Linked DNA regions of Homo sapiens: regions 1 and 2 are each linked to region 3. The links are contacts of gene promoters, found by promoter capture Hi-C in human tissues and cell types (Jung and others, 2019). All regions are on one chromosome and are shown on one strand. Each heading gives the region's core, a stretch centred on a gene start or on the middle of the fragment in contact. The rest is flanking DNA. Distances are from core to core; before and after follow the strand shown.

Region 1 (3,211 bases), core at 111-2,610, 280 kb after region 3:
CTTTCCCTCTTCCAAGTAACTCTCTGTGAGCAAATGTACTTCTGTTATTCCACTTTAAAAACCAAAAAAACCGGGCCAGCCATGGTGGCTCACGCCTGTAATCCCAGTACTTTGGGAGGCCAAGGTGGGTAGATCACCTGAGGTCAGGAGACTGAGACCATCCTGGCCAACATGGTGAAACCCCGTCTCTACTAAAAATACAAAAATTAGCCGGGTGTGGTGGCGGACATCTGTAATCCCAGCTACTCAGGAGACTGAGGCAGAAGAATTGCTTGAAACCAGAAGGCGGAGGTTGCAGTGAGCCGAGATCACGCCACTGCACTCCAGTCTAGGCAACAAGAGCGAAACTCTGTCTCAAAAACAAACAAAACAAAACAAAACAAAACCAAACCAAACCTGAGTAGCATCTGTCCTTGCAAGCATTCCTTTGCAACTCCTCAGAAGATCCAGGCTCTTCTAAGTAGCAGCAGCAGATGTGGCTTAAAACAAGATGCTTGAGGGGAATTTACAGTCTGTGACCAATTAGCCAGATGCACTCACCTTCCCACCTGGTTTTTCTCTTGTCGGTGTTTTGCGAGCCCTCTCTCACTTTCCTTGATTCTCTGTTGGTAGAAGGTCATTTCCCTTTGGCCTAGGAGTTTGCAGTCTGAGGCCATCTTGGGTTCACATCTGCTTCTGGACTTCAGATGGCACTGGTGACCAACACAAGCCTTCTCCAACACACACTCACGCAGGCACAGTGACCTTTTCTCCCGGATGCATAGCTCATCATAGTTTTCCACATTTTTTTTGTGAATTCCAACTTCAGATGGTGCAAATGTGGTCACATGGTTAATTCCCAATCTATGCTATACAGAATGCTGAGCCTTACTGTGTCTGCATGTCATTTCCCAAGCAAACCGAGGAACTGTATTTCAGCCACAAAACCTCGATGATTTGGAAGGAAAAGAGGGGATTGCCTGCGTCCGTCTTCATTCTTACGCTTTTTTTTTTTTTTTTTTTTTGAGACAAGAGTCTCACTCTGTCGCCCAGGCTAGAGTGCAGTGGCGCGATCTGGGCTCACTGCAAGCTCTGCCTCCCAGGTTCACACCATTCTCCTGCCTCAGCCTCCTGAGTAGCTGGGACTACAGGCGCCCGCCACCACACCCGGCTAATTTTTTGTATTTTTAGTAGAGACAGGGTTTCACCGTGTTAGCCAGGATGGTCTCAATCTCCTGCCCTCGTGATCTACTGCCTCAGCCTCCCAAAGTGCAGGGATTACAGGTGTGAGCCACCGTGCTCGGGCCATTCTTACATTATTTAATACTGGTCATACCACTTCCTGCTTCCAGTCAGTGAAGTAGAGTTACCGCTGTGTCTAGAAGCTACCGCTTTAGGCTATTTGTTACTCTAAATGTAATGTAAACTCCTTTCCTTTCAGTTTGGGTTTGCCTCAATCAACTACGTTTGCCAACACTTGGAGATGTAGAGAGCTTTAAGTTGTTATCTCGTCAAGATCTTGGAACCTAGGCAGGGCATGAACATCAATCACCCAAGATAAACATTTGTTTCACCAGTGTTTATAAATTTCTGGGGTTGAAAATTCCCCAATTAGGCAGGGTGCGGTGGCTCATGCCTATAATCCCAGCACTTTGGGAGACCGAGGCGGGCGGATCACCTGAGGTTGGGGGTTCGAGACCAGCCTGACCAACATGGTGAAACCTCGTCTCTACTGAAAATACAAAATTAGCCGGGCATGGTGGCGCATGCCTGTAATCCCAGCTACTTGGGAGGCTGAGGCAGGAGAATCACTTGAACCTGGGAGGAGGAGGTTGCGGTGAGCCACGGTGGTGCCATTGCACTCCAGCCTGGGCAACAAGAGCGAAACTCCATCTCAAAAAAAAAAAAAAAAAGAAAGAAAGAAAGAAAAAGAAAAAGAAAATTCCCCAATTATTTAAAAAACCTGTGAGTCATGACCTCCCCAAATCACAATTATGGTAAACTCCCCTCCCCCTTTTATTTTGCTTCAGCTAGTTTGAGTTGGGTTTTGAACCTTAGAAATGTTTTGTAGTTTTCTTCGTAGATCTACTTCTTGTTGAGCTTTTATAGCTATCGTGAATGCAATCTGTTCTCCATCTGTGATGTTTTCTACCTGGTTATGAGTGTTATATGAGAATACAATTTTTGTATATTTATTTTATATCTGGCAAAGGACTTGGCGTTCTTAGTTTTTCAGTTGATTCTCTTGAAATTTCCAAGTAGACAACTGGAAATATTTGCAAGTAAGATGTTAATTTTGGCTTTTCCTCTTTATTTATTTTGCATATTGCAGAGGTTGTGCCTTCCAAATTAATGATATGTATTAGTTATGAGATGGGACATTCTTATTTTGTTCTTTTTTTTTTTTTTTTTTTTTTGAGACGGAGTCTCACTGTCACCCAGGCTGGAGTGCAGTGATGCAATCTCGGCTCACTGCAAACTCCACCTCCCGGGTTCACACCATTCTCCTGCCTCAGCCTCCTGAGTAGCTGGGACTACAGGAGCCTGCCACCACGCCCGGCTAATTTTTTGTATTTTTAGTACAGACTCGGTTTCACTGTGTTAGCCACAATGGTCTTGATCTCCTGACCTCGTGATCCACCCGCCTCGGCCTCCCAAAGTGCTAGGATTACAGACGTGAGCCACCACTCCTGGCCCCTTATTTTGTTCTTGATCTGATCCTCTAGTTTTTCACCATTAGGCAAAATGATTAGTAATGTTTAGTTTGTGATAGTTATTATTTAGCATGATAATACAGTGTGTGTCCTTTAATTCCTAGTTTCTGAAGAGTAATTTTTAAAAAACAACAACAACTAAGAACAGATACTGAGCTCTATTAAATGCCTTTTTAGTATCTACTAAGGTGATTACAAGGCTTTACTCCATTTATTAATGAGATGAATCATGTTAATATGTTTCCTAATATTAACCTCTCTTTGTACACTTGAGATTAATTTGGCTTGGGCACAGTGCTTTACTTTTTTTTAATTTTTATTTTATTTATTTATTTATTTATATTTATTTTTGAGATGGAGTCTCACTCTGTCGCCCAGGCTGGAGTGCAGTGGCGCGATCTCGGCTCACTGCAAGCTCCACCTCCCGCGTTCACGCCATTCTCCTGCTTCAGCCTCCCGAGTAGCTGGGACTACAGGCGCCTGCCACTATGTCCGGCCATTTTTGTTTTTTTTTTTGT
Region 2 (3,073 bases), core at 509-3,008, 360 kb after region 3:
TCTTGGCATATGAATCCCCATTTTACATACAAGGTATCAAGAGGTAAGGTGACTTGACAAAGATACCATCACTAAACATAGGATTTGAACTCAATTAAGCTTGTGGTTATTTTAAGACGGCACAAAAGCAAGTGAGATCCCCTTTAAAACCCGCCAACCAGTATAATGTTATACAATTTCCCAAACCATTAATCTCTGTAAACACACAGAAAGGACTTTTAAATTAAAAACAAAAACAACAACAAAAAAACAATGAATGATATGCCCTTTGAACTCCATTTCATTTTGACCAGATTTAACCATTGTTTAGCAATTTCAGTGCTTCATCAAATGGAACTGCCTGTATCAGAAGAGCAACCAAATCCCCACAGTAATTAGACAAACAGGAAACTCAGAGCAGAGTAAATCCACAAGCTATGACAGAAACAGAGCCATAACGTAGCTATCTCTTACCACAAGAGGCTGACTTTCTGTCCACCATGTTTACCCGCCTGGTTTCATTGCGAAGTTTTTCATCTGTGTTCTCCACTAGGTTGGCAAGGTCGTCAATTATCTCTAGAAAGGAAACATACATGATTACTATTCCTGAAATACCCCGGTTCACATCACAGTATCACAGCTGTGGTTGTTCATCCTAGCAATAATGATCTCGAGTGCAGTAACTGAAAAGGTACAGAACTCATGTCGATTCTTTGAAAACTGCAATTCTGATTGTAAAAGGAAAAAAAAAAGCAGTAGTAAAGAAGAAAACTGATTTAACACAATTCCAGCAGACAGGAGAAATGCCACATTCAGAGGAAAGAAAGCATGACCTGCCGAATTTATGCCTAGCCAAGCTGTCATTCAAGTATAAAGGAACAGACAGGCCAGGCACGGTGGCTCACGCCTATAATCCCAGCACTTTGGAAGGCTGAGGAGGGAGGATTGCCTGAGGTCAGGAGTTCGAGACCGGCCTGGCCAACATAGTGAAACCTTTTCTCTACTAAAAATACAAAAATTAGCCGGGTGTGGTGGTGTGCACCTGTAATCCCAGCTACTCGGGAGGCTGAGGTAGGAGAATCGCTTGAACCCGGGAGGCAGAGGTTGCACTGAGCCAAGATCACGCTGCTGCATTCCAGCCTGGGTGACAGAACAAGACTCCATCTCAAAAAAAAAAAAAAAAAAAGGAACAGACGGCACAGTAGACTTCAGGGACTACCTGGGCCCTTCTTGAGAAAACTACATGATGAAGAAATCTAGCCAATCAAAAGATAAATAAAGAGATGATGGAGAGAACCAAATCCATTTAAATACTGGACTAAGAGTAAACAAATACGTGGATTAGATAACAGAAAGGTACAGAAAGGTCACAACAGTACAATGTAATTCCAACTGAAAAATTAGTCAGTGGTTGCGAGTGGGGAAGGAAGGTGAAAAGAAATTGAAAGTGCTAATTTCTTCATCTCTCGCAACGAGGCATATCGAGCAGTTGAAAAGTTAATCATACAGAAACTTGTAGCCTTTTAAAATCACCAAAACTTTAATGTTTTTTGTTAAGCTTGAGGGATCTTTTAGTAATTACTATCTCTTGTAAAGAATCCTTGATGTGGGCTGGGCACGGTGGCTCACACCTATAATCCCAGCACTTTGGGAGGCCGAGGCAGGAGGATCACCTGAGGTTGGGAGTTCGAGACCAGCCTGACCAACATGGTGAAACCCCGTCTCTACCAAAAATACAAAATTAATCGGTCATGGTGGCGCATGCCTGTAATCCTACCTACTCGGGAGGCTGAGGCAGGAGAATCGCTTGAACCAGGGAGGTGGAGGTTGCAGTGAGCCGAGATTGCACCACTGCACTCCAGTTTGGGCGACAGAGAGAGACTCTGTCTCAAAAAAAAAAAGAAAAGAATCCTTGATGTGAAATTCATTTCTTTTTTAATTCTAATCTTTTTAAGTGAAATTGAGCCCTTCACAACATTTAAAATAGCATATATAGTATAGTACGATCTTAACTATGTAAAATTATTTGTATCCATCTTTTTATATTTACAAACCTATAGGGGTATATGTGGATAATATTAATCTAATGCTACTAATGATTATTTCTAGATGGTGGGATCCTGTGTGACTGCTGCCTTCTTCCTTGCATTTTTCTGTGTTGTTTGAATTTCTGTGTGTTTTTTTTTTTTTTTTTTTTTTGAGAGAGAGGGTCTTGCTCTGTCACCCAGACTGGATACAGGGTACCACAATAGCTCACTGCAGTCTTCAAGGCTCTAGCAATCCTCCCATCTCAACCTCCTGAGTAGCTGAGACTGTAAGCATGTGCCACCACTCCCAGGTTATTGTTTAAATTTTTTGTAGAGACCAGGCCCTGCTATGTCACCCAGGCTGGTCTCAAACTCCTGGCCTCAAGAGATCCTCTTGTGTCAGCCTCTCAAAGTGTTAGGATTACAACCATGAGTCACTGTGCCTGGCCTGAATTTCTTACAGTGAGCCTATATAGTCATGTGCCACATGACATTTCAGTCGATGACCGACCACATCTACGACAGTAGTACCATAAGTGGTACAGTATTATAATGTTATAATACCATATTTTTACTGTACCTTTTCTATGTTTGGATACAGAAACTTTTTTTTTTTTTTTTTTTTTTAGAGGGAGTCTCACTCTTGTCGCCCAGGCTGGAGTGCAGTGGTGTCATAGCAGCTCACCACAACCTCTGCCTCTCAAGTTCAAGCGATTCTTCCGCATCAGCCTTCCAAGTAAGTGGGATTACGGGTGCGCACCACCCGTAATTTTTGTATTTTTGTATTTTTAGTAGAGATGGGGTTTCACCATGTTGGCCAGGCTGGTCTCGAACTCCTGACCTCAAATGATCCACCCACCTCGACCTCCCAAAGGGCTGGAATTACAGGCGTCAGCCACTGCACCCGACCATATTTACCATCTTGTTACAACTGCTTACATGCAATAATATGCTGTACAGGTTTTCAGCCTAGGGGCAATAGGCCATACCATACATATAGCCTAGGCATGCAGCAGGCTTTACCATCTAGTTTTGTGTGAGTACACTCCATGATGTTCGCACAATGA
Region 3 (3,274 bases), core at 233-2,732:
TGAGCTCCCATCCCTGGAAGAGCTGGCTTGGGTGGCCGTCTCTCTGGGAGGCTGGGGAAGGCCTTCTTCCAAGGAGACGGAGCTGGGCCAGACGAGCCCCGAGGCCCCTTCTTAGATTCTCAGGGTTTATGAAAATGCCAATAAGACAAACTGAGGCACTTAATGGAGCTAATGCAGCAAGGCAGCCCTTGGGCCGGAACCAGGACCTGGGGCTTTTCATCCGGGTCTATTACTGGACCACACATCTACAAGTAACAAATAAACGAGCAGAGATTCCGTTCCAAACTCTCGGCCCAGTGTATTCCTTTCCCAGAGCTCTCTGGCTGCTGTTGCAAGATGACCAAAGGATGCTGTCACTGTCCTCAGTCTTTTTATTGGGGCGATGGAGAATGAGGCAAGGAGGGGCTGGGTGGCCCCGCAGATGCCCCATGACACCATCATTCGGCAAGGTTATGCATTTGACGAATGCCCTGCAGTGGAAGGAGCCCAGGCTTCTCTTCCTGTTTTTGATGTTTACTTGGGGGTTGATCTTGTGCGAGTTTCTTCAGCTCCCGGGACCCTCAGTTTCCTCATCTGCAAAATGGAGTTAATACAACAGCAAAGCTGCTGTGGAGGTCCCATGAGCTATTACAGGGCTTTGCACCCTTAAAAATGCGGTTGAGGAAGTACCGATACGCCTGCCTCAGGGGATCTGGGGAGGGCTGGGCTGTCCCCATGCCTGAGACCAGGCAGGCCCGTCTTGGAGGGGCGGTGGCCAGCGTCCAGGTGCTGCCAGCTTCCTACCCCTTCAGCCTCCTGCCCACCACTGCTCCCTTGGCTAGAACGAAGCCGCGTTCCCGACAGACAGGCTCACGCACGGTGATATCCGTGGGAGTGCGGGCGAGCAGCCCCTCCTCGCCGGACCCCGGGGGCTTCGGGCAAAAATGGAGAGCAGGCAGAGGTCACATCCTCCTCCTCTTCCTCACGCTCCCGGGCTGCGTGCCCACAGGGGCACAGCCCTGTGCGCGGTGCCACCGGGGGCCATCAGGCTGGGTTAGAGGAAGGCCCGACCTCCGCGCAGCAAAGAAAACAAACACAGATGTGTTTGGCTGGGACCGGGAGGGAGAAAGTGGCCCCCTTCCCCCGCCCGCGCGCTCCCCCGGGCGTGAGGCTCTCCGGGCGGCGCGGGGCGCGGGCGAGGCTGACAGTCCCCGGCGGCCCCTCCTCCCCCACGGGGTGCGCGCCTGGCCCGGCCCAGCCCCCTCTCCGGGGTTTCCCCGGGTGCTCTCCTCGCTTTCTCTTTGTCTCTGCTGTTCTTTCTCGGGCTCCCGGGTTCCCACCCGCCTGTGCTCTCCCTCTCGGGCGTCCGGGCCGGTTCCCTTTAACTTTCTTCTTTCCCGGGGTGAAAACTTTGCTCGGAGCTGGCGGCAGCTCGCGGACGTTATTGGCCGGCGCCCCGCCCGGCGGCCCCGCCCCCCGCCCCCGCGCTCCCCTCCGCCCCTCACTCCCAGCGCGAGTGGCGGCGGCGGCGGAGCCTTCGGGGGCGAGCGCGCGTGTGTGTGAGTGCGCGCCGGCCAGCGTGAGTGTGTGTGCGCCCCGGGCGCGGGCAGGGCAGCACTCCGAGCTCGGCGGGAGCGGCGGGAGCCGGGCGGCCGCGTAGTCACTCGGGCGAGAGAGGCGGCGGCGGGGCCGGGACCGGGGCTGGGGCTGGGGCAGCGGCGGCCGCGCCGGGCATGGAGCTGGCAAGCCCGCGCTGAGGCGGGACGCGCCTGCTAGCAGCGAGCGAGAGGCTCTCCGGCGACCGGCGCGCGGGCTCCCCGGAGGGGCCAGGCAAACTTTTCTTTCTCTTTTGCCCCCTCCAGAGGTAAAGTCCCGAACGCGGACTTTCCGGCGGGGACGCGATCGGGGGGCATCTGAGAGGGACCCCGGGCTGCGAGACGAAGGGGCGCGGGCCGTGCAGAGTCGGGGTCCCCCAGCTCTCCTGCGCCCGAAACTTGGGGTGCGAGGGGGGCTGGTCGCGGACGGGGAGACCGGCTCAGGCATGCCCCTCGGGCGGCGTGGGGGCGGCGGTGGCGGGGAAGCAGAGCGTTCTCCCGCCGGGCGGGGAAGAAGGGGCGCGAGCGGTGCGGACTTGGAGGGCCCCGGCTTCGCCGCCCGCGGGACTTTGGGGGAGAGAGGCGGGCAGTCGGCTGCGGGGTGGGTGCCCAGGAAGCCGGGCGTTCTCCCGCATCTCCGCTCGCCACCCCGCCGAGAGCTGGAGGGCGCGGGGCGGGCTGGCTGAGCGCAGCTCCCTTCTCTCCGCAGGCGCCTTCTGCGGCAGGCGGACAGATCCTCGGCGCGGCAGGGCCGGGGCAAGCTGGACGCAGCATGATGCGCGCAGTGTGGGAGGCGCTGGCGGCGCTGGCGGCGGTGGCGTGCCTGGTGGGCGCGGTGCGCGGCGGGCCCGGGCTCAGCATGTTCGCGGGCCAGGCGGCGCAGCCCGATCCCTGCTCGGACGAGAACGGCCACCCGCGCCGCTGCATCCCGGACTTTGTCAATGCGGCCTTCGGCAAGGACGTGCGCGTGTCCAGCACCTGCGGCCGGCCCCCGGCGCGCTACTGCGTGGTGAGCGAGCGCGGCGAGGAGCGGCTGCGCTCGTGCCACCTCTGCAACGCGTCCGACCCCAAGAAGGCGCACCCGCCCGCCTTCCTCACCGACCTCAACAACCCGCACAACCTGACGTGCTGGCAGTCCGAGAACTACCTGCAGTTCCCGCACAACGTCACGCTCACACTGTCCCTCGGCAAGAAGTTCGAAGTGACCTACGTGAGCCTGCAGTTCTGCTCGCCGCGGCCCGAGTCCATGGCCATCTACAAGTCCATGGACTACGGGCGCACGTGGGTGCCCTTCCAGTTCTACTCCACGCAGTGCCGCAAGATGTACAACCGGCCGCACCGCGCGCCCATCACCAAGCAGAACGAGCAGGAGGCCGTGTGCACCGACTCGCACACCGACATGCGCCCGCTCTCGGGCGGCCTCATCGCCTTCAGCACGCTGGACGGGCGGCCCTCGGCGCACGACTTCGACAACTCGCCCGTGCTGCAGGACTGGGTCACGGCCACAGACATCCGCGTGGCCTTCAGCCGCCTGCACACGTTCGGCGACGAGAACGAGGACGACTCGGAGCTGGCGCGCGACTCGTACTTCTACGCGGTGTCCGACCTGCAGGTGGGCGGCCGGTGCAAGTGCAACGGCCACGCGGCCCGCTGCGTGCGCGACCGCGACGACAGCCTGGTGTGCGACTGCAGGCACAACA

What was found. Contacts are between HindIII fragments. The study calls those that stand out against the background at their distance.
Region 1: a fragment that was not itself captured here is called in contact with the fragment with the promoter of NTN1 in region 3 in 3 of the 25 tissues and cell types used here (lymphoblastoid cells, small bowel and thymus).
Region 2: a fragment that was not itself captured here is called in contact with the fragment with the promoter of NTN1 in region 3 in 2 of the 25 tissues and cell types used here (lymphoblastoid cells and pancreas).

The regions. Positions count from the first base shown.
Region 1 is chr17:9,298,457-9,301,667 of GRCh38, forward strand. All of the region lies in intron 7 of STX8 (syntaxin 8), which reads right to left. Among named protein-coding and RNA genes, the nearest start is that of STX8, 280 kb to the right of the region's middle. RefSeq lists an enhancer at 2,632-2,701. The HindIII fragment of the contact is 8,515 bases long and covers 1-3,211 here.
Region 2 is chr17:9,378,099-9,381,171 of GRCh38, forward strand. STX8 (syntaxin 8) reads right to left here. Exons shown (of 8, transcript NM_004853.3): 7 at 454-555. Among named protein-coding and RNA genes, the nearest start is that of STX8, 200 kb to the right of the region's middle. The HindIII fragment of the contact is 4,928 bases long and covers 1-3,073 here.
Region 3 is chr17:9,020,028-9,023,301 of GRCh38, forward strand. NTN1 (netrin 1) reads left to right here and starts at 1,483. Exons shown (of 7, transcript NM_004822.3): 1 at 1,483-1,558; 2 at 2,284-3,274. The coding sequence starts at 2,347. RefSeq lists silencers at 845-894, 945-1,734 and an enhancer at 881-1,424. The HindIII fragment of the contact is 11,312 bases long and covers 1-3,274 here.